2 separate regions of the Homo sapiens genome follow, and region 1 is linked to region 2. The links are contacts of gene promoters, found by promoter capture Hi-C in blood cells and fetal thymus (Javierre and others, 2016). All regions are on one chromosome and are shown on one strand. Each heading gives the region's core, a stretch centred on a gene start or on the middle of the fragment in contact. The rest is flanking DNA. Distances are from core to core; before and after follow the strand shown. Region 1 holds the start of ZNF134 (zinc finger protein 134). Region 2 holds the start of ZNF528 (zinc finger protein 528).

Region 1 (6,837 bases), core at 3,550-6,049, 5.2 Mb after region 2:
GGCGAAACCCTGTCTCTACTAAAAGTACAAAAATTGTAAAAGTAAAAAGTAAAAGTAAAAGCTGGGTGTGGTGGCAGGCACCAGTAATCCTAGCTACTCAGGAGACAGGCAGAAGAATCTCTTGAACCTGGGAGGTGAGCCGAGATCGCACCATTGCACTTCGGCCTGGGCAACAACAGCGAAACTCTGTCTCAAAAAAAAAGTATCCACAAATGTTCCAGTGACTATGACTGCAAGATCACTGTGTGCAGAAATCTCTAGAAATGTGTGTCTTGTAGCTCAAGTTATTACTAGAGACAACAAGGGTTTTGTGGATTCCTGTAGCCTCTCTGGCCTGTTTACTTCAAGGCCATTGCTGCACAGACAAAAAAAAAAAAGGATGAAGTCAAGAGAGATTCGGTTGTCCTTGGTGCGGCTTTTGTGATCCAGTAGCAATCCTCTTAACGCTGATGGAAATGGCCTTCATTGCTCACCTGTATTTCCTGCCACTGAAGCAGGTCTGCCTCTACGTGGCCTGGGGAGCTAGATGGTAGAGTCAATAGAGACTTAGTAAACCAGACTTTTTGAAGTGTCAATGACCAAGATTGTTATTGCATCCATTAAAAAAAAATCAAGTTATAATTGATGTGGAATAAATTATATATATTTAAAGTGTACAACTTGATAAGTTCTGACATAAATGTAAACCCATGGAAGCATTGTTGTAATCATAAGAATGAGCATATCTCACCTGCATATTTTACTTTTGCTCTTTTATAATACATTCCAGAATATGCAGGCAACTTTTAACATTCCTTTACAATTGATTGACTTGAATTTTCTGGAATTTTATTTTAGACATCATAAAGTGTGTATTTTTTTGTGCTTTTATTTATAAAACTTCCCCTTAGGTAAGGGCCTGAGGTTAACTTTGGAGGTGACAGATATGTCCAACACCATTGATAGGGTGATGATTTCAAAAGTGTACATATGTGTGTGTGTGTGTGTGTGTGTGTGTGTGTGTGTGTATACTTACTGTTTTAATATGTGCAGTACATTGCATGTTGATTACACCTCAATGAACCTATAAAAAGTTATTCCATTTAAAAATCTGGGCCTCCCACTTCTATTGGAAACTGGACAACTTGACAGCCTGCAGTGTTTTGAAACAGCATGGATTGGGTGTCTTGTTTCCAGCATATGTCCCATGTTCCCCAACACTGTTCCTCAGGAAACAGGGAGGAACAGCTGTTCCTCAGGACCTGCTGAGTGGCCATATTCCCTGAAGGCCAGAAAAGTAACAAGGTGACCGTTTTGGACAAAATTCTGAGCTTAAAACCTTGCCTGAATCAGTAGCCCCCAAATTCATTGTGCACATCTTATAATTTCCAAGAACACACATATTAAGTGAATATTTTTATGTTTATAATTGTGAAATGGTCTGTTCAGGGCTGTCATTCCTCAACCTTTTTTTTCAACCACCCTCTCATTAAGGAAGCATATGTATTAATCATGGTTTCTGTTTTTTGTATTATATGTCTTGACATCTTAAAATTCTTGCTGGTGACAGAGAGACTTACCCTACCAGAGGTAGCTAATTTCTAAAAATAGTAAACAACTACCTTGAGAGCAAGGCAAGCCAACTACCCTCTTTATCTAACTCTTACTCACCAAGCCAATACTTTCCCTGCACTAAATCATCCCAGCGTTACTGCCAGTGATTTTGCAGCAGTCTGCAGCAATTTTGGTCCTTGCCTCCTCAGAAGAAAATTCAACCGAGGAGGCAGAGGTTGGCTTAAGGCACAGGAAGAGACCAAGGCAAGTTTTTTTTAGCAGGAGTGAGAGTTTATTAAAATGTTTTAGAGTAGGAGTGAAAGGAATCAAAGTACACTTGGAAAAGGGCCAAGTGGATAACTTGAGAGGTCAAGTGCCCCACTTGATCCTTGGCTTGGGACTTTATACATTTGCTTATTTCCCAGGCTCTTTATTCTCCTTCCTTCGGTAGGCTGTTGCTTGACTACTGCATGCACAGTGGTCTGCCAGTACTTGGGAGGGGCCGCATGCAGTTTGTTTACTGAAGTCATACATATACTCATTTGGGGTGATCTTCCCTTAACAAGTCATGCACCCCCAGAGGAAGGTCAAATACCAGTCAAATTTTGCCATCTTGCCCCATTTTGTGCATGCTCGAAACCTTATCAGGGGTTGTGGTTCACTGGCTCCAGGTGTTTTCTATCTGTTGGAAAACTCTTTTCCCTCCTGGTACCAATCATGGCCACTTATCATCTCAGAGGGATAGTTTTATGCTTTCCTGTCCTTCACCCAATGAGAGCTGGACATCTCGGGGGTCCCTCTCTTGTTTTGTTTATTATCTCAGAGGAAAAGATTTATGATTGCCTGTCCTTGACTCCAAAATTGCCTGACATTCCTGGGGTCCCTCTCTCCTGCCCTACTCTTATCTACCTACTCTAACACCAGGGTGAGGGTATGAGGCAACTAGAGACCACCCCTGTAAATCGAAGCCAACCAGAATTATTCAGACTAGCCAGTACTCAGCTGTTTGCTCTGATCTGGCCTAGGCTTTCCCCTAGCTCTTGCTTCTTCCTTTAGACTGAAACCTGTTCCTCCTGTGGCCCTGCATGGCATACTGTACTTCCCATTTCTAGGGAAATTCTGAGTAACATTAAACTTTTATTTCACTGGCATTGAGCTCTCCATGTCCTTTTCCAATAAAGACCCATCCACAAATTGGCCTCTCTTGGCTATGTAATATTACATATCTTTCCAGCACTTCTCAATGCCTTCACCTTCTCTTTTCTCCATTATGCCTGCCACATTCTAACATTCCATATAATTTAGCATTTTTTTCATATTTCCTCCTCTTTCTTGAGTACAGCGTAAGCTATTGGGGTCTGTCTCTTGTTTTGTAAATGTCCCATGCAGTTAAGATAGTGTCTGAAATACAGTAGGTGTTCCTTGAATATTTCTTAGAACTATGAATAAGCATAATACTACAGCATCCCTGTTCACCTTAATATTCTGATAGCACTTTCTAAATGTTTTCTTTACTTCTCCTTCCAGGTATTATTGAGTGTTTTCAAGAATGAAAAGAGGCCTGGCATGGTGGCTCACATCTGTAATCCCAACTTTTTGGGAGGCTGAGGTGGGAGGATCCCTTGAGCCCAAGAGTTTGAGGCTGCAGCAAGCTATGATCGTGCCACTACACTCCAGCCTGTGCAACACAGTGAGATCCTGTCTCCAAAATTAAATAAATAAATAAAATTACATTTTGGAGACTAAACGCTGCTTGTAGTCATAGTTCTAACACAGCTGTGTGCTCAGCTTCATTTGCTCACTTCTCAGAATTCAATGTCTCCTGCTCAAATTTTGCTGTCATCTTAACCGTTTTCACTTATCACAGATATGTTTCTCCAGGTCCATTTCGTCATGTATCTGTGAATAACTACAGAATTATTAACTTTGAGTAATTTGGCCGGGCGCGGGGGCTCTCCTGTAATCCCAGCACTTTGGGAGGCTGAGGCGGGCAGATCACGAGGTCAGGAGATCGAGACCATCCTGGCTAACACGGTGAAACCCCATCTCTACTAAAAATACAAAAAGTTAGCCGGGCATGGTGGCAGGCGCCTGTAATCCCAGCTACTCCGGAGGCTGAGGCAGGAGAATAGTGTGAACCTGGGAGGCGGAGCCTGCAGTGAGCTATGGTCGCACCACTGCACTCCAGCCTGGGCGACTGAGCAAGACTCCGTCTCAAAAAAAAAAAACACAAAACAACTTTTGAGTAATTTAAACAATTCACAAATGTTTTTGTCTTTCTTTCCCCATACACTCGCCCTTTTCTTTTTTAAAACCATAAATAAATCTCAATTCTCAATTCAGACACTGTCGGTGTAATTGCAGGTGAAATGAGAATCACCTCCCAGCCAAGAAATCTGATCCCAATTTTCCAAATCTTTATTTCTGGGTTCAGACACCACATTTTCAGCCCCTGTCTTGGCATATAAAAGCATTTATAATGGTTCTTCTTTTCAGATAAGAAACATCACCAAAAGGAAATAGATATATCTCAACTTTTGGGCTAGGAACTCTCATTTGGATAAAAGAATATTTCTCCTTTGGTTGGACATTAGTGACCATACAGGCAGGAAAGGTGCCTTCCTTGACCACCTTCTCTCGCCTGTCTTCCTCCTCATGGTTCTCTCAGGTATTTTTTTTCTGAGGAAACCAGAGGAAGAGCTCTATATTAGTCCACTTGCCTCAGGGAGCTCCAGCATCCCTCCATAGCCACTGTCTGGAGACCATTCTTCCACTCCATGGCCCTGCCTGGGGACAATTCTCTGTTAACTCTGACCCAACTGAGGCTCACAAAACTGACTCAAAGCTTCCCTCTACAGTACACATATTTTTTAAATGAAGGAAATTTGACTGAACTATGAGTGGACTCAGAGTGACATTGGATGTTGTGTGTCCATTTGGTGGTGTGGCTTCAGGGAACATCTGTAAGAATATATCCCAATATTTCGGGGATCCCTGCAGACCTCACTACACAAGACCTGGTTGAGGGTCCTTTAAAAGGAGCGAAGCCACGCCCTGACCTCAGAGTCTCAGGGCATAATTTCTCAGCGCCCCTCGCAGTACCATTTGGCCTTTGCCCAGCGTGCAGGGGAGTTAGCCGTCACCACGGCCAAGTGCACATGAGAACTGCATTGCCCAGAAACCTGTGCGCCGCCCGGCGGCGGCACTCTTAGGGGCGTCTCCCTGCGGACGGAAGCTCTCTGGGCGGGACTTCCGGTATCTTCCTCGCGGTGGACATCTTGTCGGCTCTTAGGTGGAACCATCGGAGCAGAAGCTCGGGGTTGCTGGGCGGTTCCGAGGTGACGGAAGCGGGAGGGTGCGGGAGAAGTCGCTGTTCGCTCTGCGGAGTGGCTCGCCAGCGAAGACCCCGCCTGCGCCCCCGGGGACGGACGACCGCGGTGCCAGGGTCCCGCGACCTGGGACCCCCTCGCGGCTCCGGGTGGTCTACGAACTGTGATGGCGGCGGCCGCGGTGATGGGCCCGGCGCAGGTGGGTGCTGCCTTTCCCAGACTTTCGCCCGCCCCAAATCCTGAAGTTCCAAATGAGGAGCGCCTGTCTGAGTCCCTGCAGCGCAGGCCCCAGTGTCCAAGGCAGCGGGGCGCTGGTGGGTGGGGGCGAGTGTGACTGGCAGAGGGGCAGCCTGAGCATAGGTTTGGAGCTGGACTGAGCCCGTAGCAGTCGGGAGCGTGTGTGAACCGTAGTCAGGCCTGCAATGTCGAGGGGAGAAGTTGCTCCTTCATTGCGAGGACGATAGGAGCCATGGCGGGTTTTGAATGGTGGAGGGAAGGGATCCGAAAAAGGATTTTTAAAGTATTCCAATGTTTGCTGAGGAGGAAACCGACTACAGTGAGGTAGAAACGATGAGGATGGAGGCAAGGAGACGTTTGAGGAGGTCCCTGCAACAAACTCCAGAAGTGTTGCGGTGGTGGCTGGGCCAGAGCAGTGGCAGGAGGGGTTGGGTGGGGAAGTCATGAGATTCTGGGTAGATTTTTAAAGATGGAACCAATGGGGTTTCCTGCCGCATCAGATGTGGTCGTGAGTGAATGTAGGGAGGAAAGGGCTATCCAGGGTTTTTTTGGCCTGTTTTCCTTCCTGAACGTGTGAAAGAATGGAAATTGGTAAGTCACAGCAGGGAGCACGTTTCAGGGGCATCAGGAATTGGGTTTTGGACTTGGTGAATCTAAGGTGTTCTGCACTGGAGGTTCATCACGGGTAGCTGAACATGCAGGTCTGGGGTTCTAGAGAGGGAGTTGTGCTAGAGACTTCAATGGGTGAGGCATAAGGTCAAAGCCTGTAGTAGATCAGATTTAGAGGGTGGAATTTCAAGGAAGTTATTTTGTGTGGTCTCTGAAGTGAGAGGTGGGTTTAGGGTGGAAGGCCAGGGATGAAGGGGTGGACACTTAAGATTCCTTCCAGAAAGGAGGGGTCCTGGCATGTGAAAGCATTCTAGATGGTGTTGTTGGAAGTCAATGCTTGGTGCTGCAAAGTGAAACCAGCACTCAGGCAAAAGTTTTCTCAGCAAGGCAATTTACTTCTGTGCAAGTGTGCTGCCTGTGTTAATCACGATCCCAAGAGCACACTGAACAAAGGAGGGAAGGGGTTTTTATCTCTAACCCATAGTCCCTACCTTCCTCTGTGTCACTCCCCCATGGGCTGGGGTCGGACCGCTTAATCTAAGCTGAGCCAATTGGGTATTTGTGAGTATTTTCCAAATAAGGAAGAGGGAAGGGGAAGGTGAGTTACAGTGGTGGGACATGTGAGTTGTGTAGGACGTGTGGTTTTGGCGGGGGCAATGGGTGCAAAGTGAGTAAGGGAACAGATGTGAATTATTGGTTAGTGCTTACAGGAAGGTTGTTTATAGTAACTAGGGGCAAGGAGGCATGGAGAACAAGAAAGGTTTGAGAACAAAGAACAAGGAAGTTAACAGGCTAAACCTTTGAAGAGGAATTTTATTATATCTTATAGTGTCAGCAAGAGGAGAGGGCTGTAGAGCATAAGTAGCCTGGCCTGCACTGGAGACCAAGGTGAGGGATGCAGTAGGTTTGCCACCCTACAGGCTCAGCATGCCTTCATGGGCGCTGCCTGTGGAGCAGTCCCATCCCCAACCAGTGCATTGGTGCCTCAGTTACCCAAACCCTCAGGTAAGCAGAATTGATGAACATCTCTAATGAAGGATCACTGCAGCTCCCCTTCAGAGGAATATGTATCAGGTAGGCTGGTTTAGTGCAAGGGCTAGTGTACACCTTGCAAGTACGCAGAAGGAAC
Region 2 (7,247 bases), core at 2,423-4,922:
ATTTTATTTTTAATATCAGGTTTCATGTGCAAATTGCTAGTGTATAGAAATATACAAGATTATTATTATTATTATTTTGAGACAGGGCCTTACTCTGTCATCCTGGCTGGAGTGCAGTGGAGCAATCTCAGCTACTGCAACCTGTGTCCTGCAGGCTTAAGTCATCCTCCCACCTCAGCTTCCCCAGTAGCTGGCACTGCAGGCATGTGCCACCATGGCCTGTTAAATTTTTGTGTTTTGTAGAGATGGGGTTTCACCATGTTACCCAGCCTGGTCTCAAACTCCTGAGCTTGAGTGATCTGCCTGCCTTGGCCTCCCAAAGTGCTGGGATTACAGGCACGAGCCACCATGCCTGGCTGATGAAATATACGATATTTTTGTAGGTTGACCTTATACTTTGCTACCTTTACATTTTTCTTGTTCTAGAGATTTTTGTAGATTTTTTTGGAATTTTCTACATAAAATCATTTCATCAGTTTCCTATTGCTATACACAGTGATTGGCTTAAAACAAGAAAAATTTATTCTTTTATAATTCTGTAAGTCACATATCTAATATGGGTCCATAGTTCTGTGATTCTTCATTAATCTCCAGGGGAGAATTTGTTTCCTTACCCTTTGTAGGTTCCAGAGGCCACTTACATCCTTTGACTCATGGTCCACTTCCTCCATCTTTAAAGGTGAGAAAAAAAATCTCTTTATCCCTCTATTTTCAACACATCACCACTGTCTCTGTCCCTTCGCATCCACCTGCACCCTTCTGATATTGAACCTTGTGATTCTATCACTTTGACCATATAATTCAGGATGTCTATCTAAAGATCCTTATCTAGACCACATTTGCAAACTCCCTTTTGATATATCCAGTAACACAGGTCATAGGGATGTAGCTACCTTCCTTTGGGAAAGGTATTAGCCTGCACAACCAACATATTTTCTGTTGGTACACTATTTTTTTTGTCCTGTCCTCAGGCCACCCTCCTTCCTCAGCCTCCCAAAGCACTGTGATTACAGGCCTCAGACACCACACCCAGCCTGTCACTTTTATTTCTTTTTCCTTTATTTCACTGGCTGGAACCTTTCATATTGTGTGGAATAGTAGTGATAAGAGGGGACATTCTTGCCCTCATCCCAACCTCTAGGGGAAACTATGCTTTCACCAGTTTGTATGATGATTCTGATTCTGTAAGGATTGGTAGGTGATCTTGAGTTGAGGAAGTTTCCCATGATACTGCTTTCCATACTGACCGCAGTATTTCAGATTCCCACAAAATGTACGAAAATAGTTTCTCCACATCCTTGCTTGTGAAGCAGGTTCACTGCACACTGGTTGCCAATGTGTCTGAGTTGAGTGAGAGATAATCTCACGGACACACAGTAAGTTACATGAAGTGAATTTGTTACATACAGATCGGCAGATACCTGGGATTCATGCATTCTGCTCCCCAAGGCTCAGGAAAACCACCCAGTGCAGATGCAGTCTCTCTGTATGTGTTCAACTTGCATCACAGCTGTGGGAGGCTGGAAGGCGGCCCATCCTGGGTTTCATGCTCCAGGGATGCATGGCACGTTGGCCTAAAGCAACAAAGGGGATCCTGTTCTGGGGATCTGGAACACATCCTGTCCTTTTCTCACCGGTCCCTTCCTCTCAGGATGTTGCTTTTCCAGCACATTCTATATTCATTCTTGGGAACTACAAGTGAGAAGTCAGATGCAACTGGGCCAATTCAACCCCACTTGAATGCTGTCCTGCAGTCTCTCCGCCAATCCAGATATCCCTTTTATTTTTATATTTTTTGAGACGGAGTCTCGCTCTGTCTCCCAGGCTGGAGTGCAGTGGCGCAATCTTGGCTTACTGCACCTCCACCTCCCAGATTCAAGCAATTCTTGTGTCTCAGCCTCTCGAGTAGCTGGGACTACAGGCGTGTGCCACCATGCCTGGCTAATTTTTTTTTTTTTTTTTTTTGTATTTTTAGTAGAGACTTCGTTTCACCATGTTAACCAGGCTGGTCTCTAATTCCCGACCTCAGGTGATCTGCCCTCCTCGGCCTCCCAAAGTATTGGGATTACAGGCGTGAGCCACCACGCCTGGCCCAGATATCCCCTTTAATAAAGCTAGTCCATTTACATGTGCACTGACCTCCCTGGATCTGGAGGTAGAGGCTGGTCTCAGGAGATTGAAGTAATACCTCGACTGGCAGAATCTCAGGGCAACATCATTGAGGTACAGCCAGTTGCATTTCACTAGGCTCAAGAGGATTGCTGCCTCAAGCAGGATAACCAGGCCTGCCTGGAGCAGTGCCGTAGTCCAGGATCCCAGTGACCTAGGTGAGAAGTTGGTACTCAGATCAAAGAAAAGTTCTTCAGGTGACCCCACTGTCTGCAGCCAATGGGCCTGCTTGTGGGCCTTATGTATTTGTGTTTCAAAAATAACCTGAGGGCTTGATGTGGGGGTCCTTATCTCCCATGCAAGGTGATTCATGCCTATAATCCGAGCACTTTGGTAGGAGCAGATGGGAAGACTGCTTGAGGCTAGAAGCTGGAGACCAGCCTGGGCAACAAAACCAGACTACATCTCTATTAAAAACAAAGCAACAAACAGTAGAAAATTAGCACAGTGGAGAGGCACAGGCCTTTACTCACAGCTACTCGGCAGGCTGAGACAGGGGGTCACCTGCCCAGGACCCCAGGAAGTCAAGGTTGCAGTGAGCTATGATTGCGCCACTGCATTTCAGCCTCGGTGGCAGAGACCCTGTCTTAAAATTTTAAAAAGTATTAAAAAACTAAGTTGGACCGGGCGTGGTGGCTACTCTGGAGGCTGGGGCAAGAGAATCACTTGAACCCAGGAGGCGGAGGTTACAGTGAGCTGAGTGCCTGCCACTGTACTCCCGCCTGGGGGACAGAGGGAGACGCTGTCTCAAAACAACAACAACAACAAAAAACTACGTCGTTTATGGCTATTTTTATAAGTTACTGGCTTTTTTTTTTTAAAGAATCGGTGACTTATCTTCACACTGGCCTTAGTCCTCCATGCCCAACACGATGTCCCTAGGAAAGTCTCTGGAATTGAGCACAGGGTTGACCTTCACCGTCTAGAGTGAATGGGGAAGATAAATGAAAAGTATTTATCTTCTATGGGCACTGGCATGAAATAGAACATTCTACCCTGGCAGGGTTTTGCATTTCACATTTTAGCTTGCATCATCCCCTTCACAGACAATTCCAAAGTGTGTTAATTCAATTCCTAAAGCTTCCCTTCCCTTCCTCCCTTCCCTTCCCTCCTTACTTTTCTTTCTTGTCCATTTATTTTCGGTTTTTTTCTCTTTCTTTCTTGGTTTTCTTTCTCTTTTTCAACTTCTCTTTCTTTTCTCTTTCTCTTTACTCTCTCTCTTCTCTCTCTTTCTGCTTCCAGGGTAGGTGGGACTTGAAATTCATTTTAATAGAAGGAATTTTCGTGGATATAATCTACAACCGATTTTGCTCTGCGCAGGTAAGATCCGTTTTCAGACCAAAACCCTGAAAACAAGCGCAGCCAGTCAAGCGAACGGAAGCGCAGGCCCGGCCCAGGCTTTGTCCCGGCCCGCCCTGGTCCCAGCCAGTCCGGCCTCTAGGATGCGCGCGCAATTTCGTGCAAACCCGGAAGCGGACCGCGGGGGGCGAACGCCTAGAGCGCAGTTTCCGGTAGACCCGGAAGCCGATTGCAGGGAGAAACTGTTTTCGCAGCAGTGCGTGAGTTTCCCTTTGTCTATGTTAAGTCTAGGCTAGCCAGTTCTTCTCTGCTTCTATACCCGGGAGCTGAGGGGCATGCAGACCTTGAAATCCCGGCACCGCTCCCTCCACCCCGAGTAAATTCAGACATCCTTTGAGAGTCTGGGAGTCGCTTTCTGCGTGTTAAAATCGCTTGGAGGCTGGTCGTGTGCCCGGTCTTTTTGTCATTTACCCACGTAGACACCTCCTATCGTGGGGTTTACCTGCTTCAAATCCTTTAGTAACCCCTACACACGCCCCGCACCACGTAAAATCCTCACTCTCCGTTCCCCTAGCCTCGCCCTTCTTTGCCCCTAGAGCTCAGCGCCCCAACAGGGCACGAGAGGCCTCGTCCTCTGCCCAGACCTGGTTTCTGCAGACTCCACCCCTCTCCTGACCCACTCCTGCCTTTTTGCTCCTTAATCTGGACCCTCTGTTCCCCAGGCCTCCCTTTTCCAGCCACCGGTTCTCCTGACCCCGAGTGTGGGGGGTGACTTCAGTCTCCTGACATCCAGTGTTCTCTCGAGCCAGTTTCCAGCCCACAGAAAATGAGCTCTTCCGGAAGTGGGCATCTTATTCCAATCCCCTCCCTGTGAATGTGTGGAGAAAAAGAGATGGGAACGAGGCAGAGGAAATAGAGAAATTTTGAAAGAGAAATGAAGAATGAGAGACCCATTAACAGAAGGCAAAGTAGAAGGTGAGTGAGGGGTTTGCAGAGGCACAGTGAAAGAAGGTGCCGAGAAAATAGCAGGGGAGAAAAGTAACTGTAAAAATATAGACAAACCTGGGTCTGTAGAAAGACGAAATTCAACAAGATAGGGAAGGCTTCTCAGACAGAGGGGGGAGAGGAGGAGGGATTTGGAGCCAGGTCAGACAGAGCAGCGTGGTGCTGGGACAGCCAGAGGGGGCAGCTGGTCACAAGGAGAACAGGGAGAACCACAGCAGGGGGAGGCCTGGGATCTAAGGGTGCCAGAGAGTGGGGACAGGGGTGTGTAATATCGAAGATGGAATTTAACAGGGAGACCCCAAGGGGAGCTGAGATGTGGGAGGAAAGAGGCAGAAATATATGGAGATTAGGGACAATGAAAGATTGGGCAGAAAGAGGAATAAGAGGTGAAACAAGTTGTAAAAATGGATCAGAACAGGTGGGAGAGAAGGAATAGAGGGAAGAATGGGACAAAGAGAAGAGGAGGGACTCAAAATGAACAGAATCCTAGGGGAAAATAGAGAAAAAAAGAGCTAGGAAAAAAGATGAGAATGAGAGATATGTACAGAATGAGGCAGGGAAACAGTAGTGAGGAAAGAGGGGGACCCTGGTTACAGATGAGTGGTGAGTTGATTGGAAATTATGATTGAATTGTGACATATTAATTTTTCTATAATATAAAATTTGTTTAGAACACATGAGGCTAGGAGCTGTGGCTCACACGTGTAATCCCAGTACTTTGGGAAGCTGAGGTGAGCGGATCACTTGAGGTCAGGAGTTGAGACCAGCCTGGCCAACATGTGAAACCCATCTCTAGTAAAAATACAAAAATTAGCTGGGCCTGATGGCCTGCGCCTGTAATCCCAGCTACTCTGGAGGCTGAGGCAGGAGAATCGCTTAATCCTGGGAGGCAGAGGTTGCAGTGAGCCGAGATCGTGTCACTGCACTCCAGGTTAGGTGACAGAGCAAGACTCCATCTCAAAAAACAAAAAACAAAAAACCACACATGAAGATGAGAATTGGAACACTATTTATAAGGCACTCTTCTCTTTTCTTGGGATGGACTAGGGTGTGAGTGTATAAGTTAGGAAAAACCAGTGTGTTTTTGTGTTCACAGTGAACACAATAAAGAGCGCTCAACACAGAATGCCTCATCTCTGGTCACCAAAGTAATATGGGAATTACTTGTCACCAACAAGCAGTTCTTCGTCAGACAGCACCTGGGTGTTCTGTAATTTTACTCAGTTTAACTGGTCAGTGTAGGAACAACCACAGACACATTTTGATCACTAAAGGTGAGGGATTCTCCTTTGGGTGTGAGAGTAGTAAAAACAGTGTGGTTTTTTCCTGTCTCAAACAGTAAGGGGAAGAATTTTCCAACAGGCCCACTCACCTGTCTCTAGGACTGTGTTCTTAGTAGTGACTGGGAATTGTCTGTCCCTGCTCCTGGCTGCTGCTGATGCTGAGACTGTGTGCCACAGGCCAGCCCCATTCACTCTCTCCTGATGCCACGGCATCCCTCCTCCACAGTGTCATCAGATTTTACTTCAAGGGAATTATTTTGGTCAGCATACCCAGATGGAGTTGTTGCCCATTAAAACACACACACACACACACACACACACACACACACACACGCCTTTATTTTTTCCACTATTTCATCCTCAGAAGAAAAAACAAAGTATTAGCTACATTTTTACTTGCAATAAGTATGCCTTTTCTGTGCTCCATGTAAGAGCACAATATACCAAAATCTTGTTTAGGCGCTCTCTCACTCTTTCCTCCATTTCTTGCTTGACCCCATCCAATCAGGTTTTGACACCAACCATTCCACTGCTCCTTTTTTTATCTGAGTCACCAGTGACTTCTCTGTTTCTAAATCTAGTTATTTATTTATTCATTTAATTTTTAGAGACAAGGTCTTGCTCTGTCACCCAAGCTGGCATGCAGTGGCACAGTCATAGTTCACCATAACCTCAAACCCCTAGACTCCAGCAATCCTCCCGTCTTAGCCTCCAGAGTAGATAGGACTATGGGCCTGTCCCTCTGCGTGGCTGATTGAAAAAAAAATTTTTTTTTTTGAGACAAAGTCTCACTACATTGCCCAGGCTGGTCTTGAACTCCTGACTTCTAGCCATCCTCCTACAAAGAAGTCCCAGCATGCTGGGATTAGAGGCATGAGCCCTTTACCCTGCTTAAATCTGACTTTGAATTTTCTGTCCTCCTGTCTTTTTCTGTCAGCAGCATGTTTCACAGCTGATCACTCTTTTTTTTCGCAGCTTTGAAGACATTGCTTGTATTTTTAAAAATCTGTTTAAAATTTTTCTCATTACTTTCGTATCTTATCAGTTTCCTCTGCTGCTGTCTCCTGAAGTGTCTTCTCTGAATATGGAAATGTCACCCAATTTAGTCCTTAAACCTGTTCTGTCTGCCCACACCCTCAGCTTTTCCTTTTGATCTCATCTATGGTTTTAAACACCACCAACATGTCTCCATTTTCCCTCTTCACCCACCCCTCTCCCCTGAATTCCAAAATCCTGTGTCCAGTCATGTTCTCGACATCTCTGCTGGGACATCCACAGGCATCTCCACCTCCACGTGTCCAAAATAGGCTTCCTGAACTCCCCCAGACATGTTCTCCCTACAGTCCTGCATAGCTCAGATGACAGACACCTTCTACTTTCTGGGGATTAACTAAACCTGTCAGAATGTGCTTAAAATATATGAGATACTATTTGTGTTTTAATTTCTAAGGTACAGAATAAGTGACATATTTACTTAAAATGAGTGAGGAA

The links. The method cuts DNA at HindIII sites, captures the fragments that hold promoters and counts their contacts. A CHiCAGO score of 5 or more calls a contact.
Region 1: a contact is called between the fragment with the promoter of ZNF134 here and the fragment with the promoter of ZNF528 in region 2, in 3 of 17 cell types (non-activated CD4 T cells, total CD4 T cells and naive CD4 T cells). The highest score is 8.5, in non-activated CD4 T cells.

The regions. Positions count from the first base shown.
Region 1 is chr19:57,609,443-57,616,279 of GRCh38, forward strand. ZNF134 (zinc finger protein 134) reads left to right here and starts at 4,800. Exons shown (of 3, transcript NM_003435.5): 1 at 4,800-5,061. ZNF530 (zinc finger protein 530) reads left to right here. Exons shown (of 4, transcript NM_001321981.2): 4 at 1-656. RefSeq lists an enhancer at 4,695-4,874 and a silencer at 5,005-5,054. The HindIII fragment of the contact is 2,580 bases long and covers 4,377-6,837 here.
Region 2 is chr19:52,394,177-52,401,423 of GRCh38, forward strand. ZNF528 (zinc finger protein 528) reads left to right here and starts at 3,673. Exons shown (of 7, transcript NM_032423.3): 1 at 3,673-3,728; 2 at 4,191-4,443. ZNF528-AS1 (ZNF528 antisense RNA 1) reads right to left here and starts at 3,581. Exons shown (of 7, transcript NR_125345.1): 1 at 3,286-3,581; 2 at 3,019-3,091; 3 at 2,434-2,576; 4 at 2,189-2,323; 5 at 1,422-1,574; 6 at 615-671. It also overlaps a transcript of ZNF880 not described here. RefSeq lists an enhancer at 2,985-4,184. The HindIII fragment of the contact is 5,447 bases long and covers 3,248-7,247 here.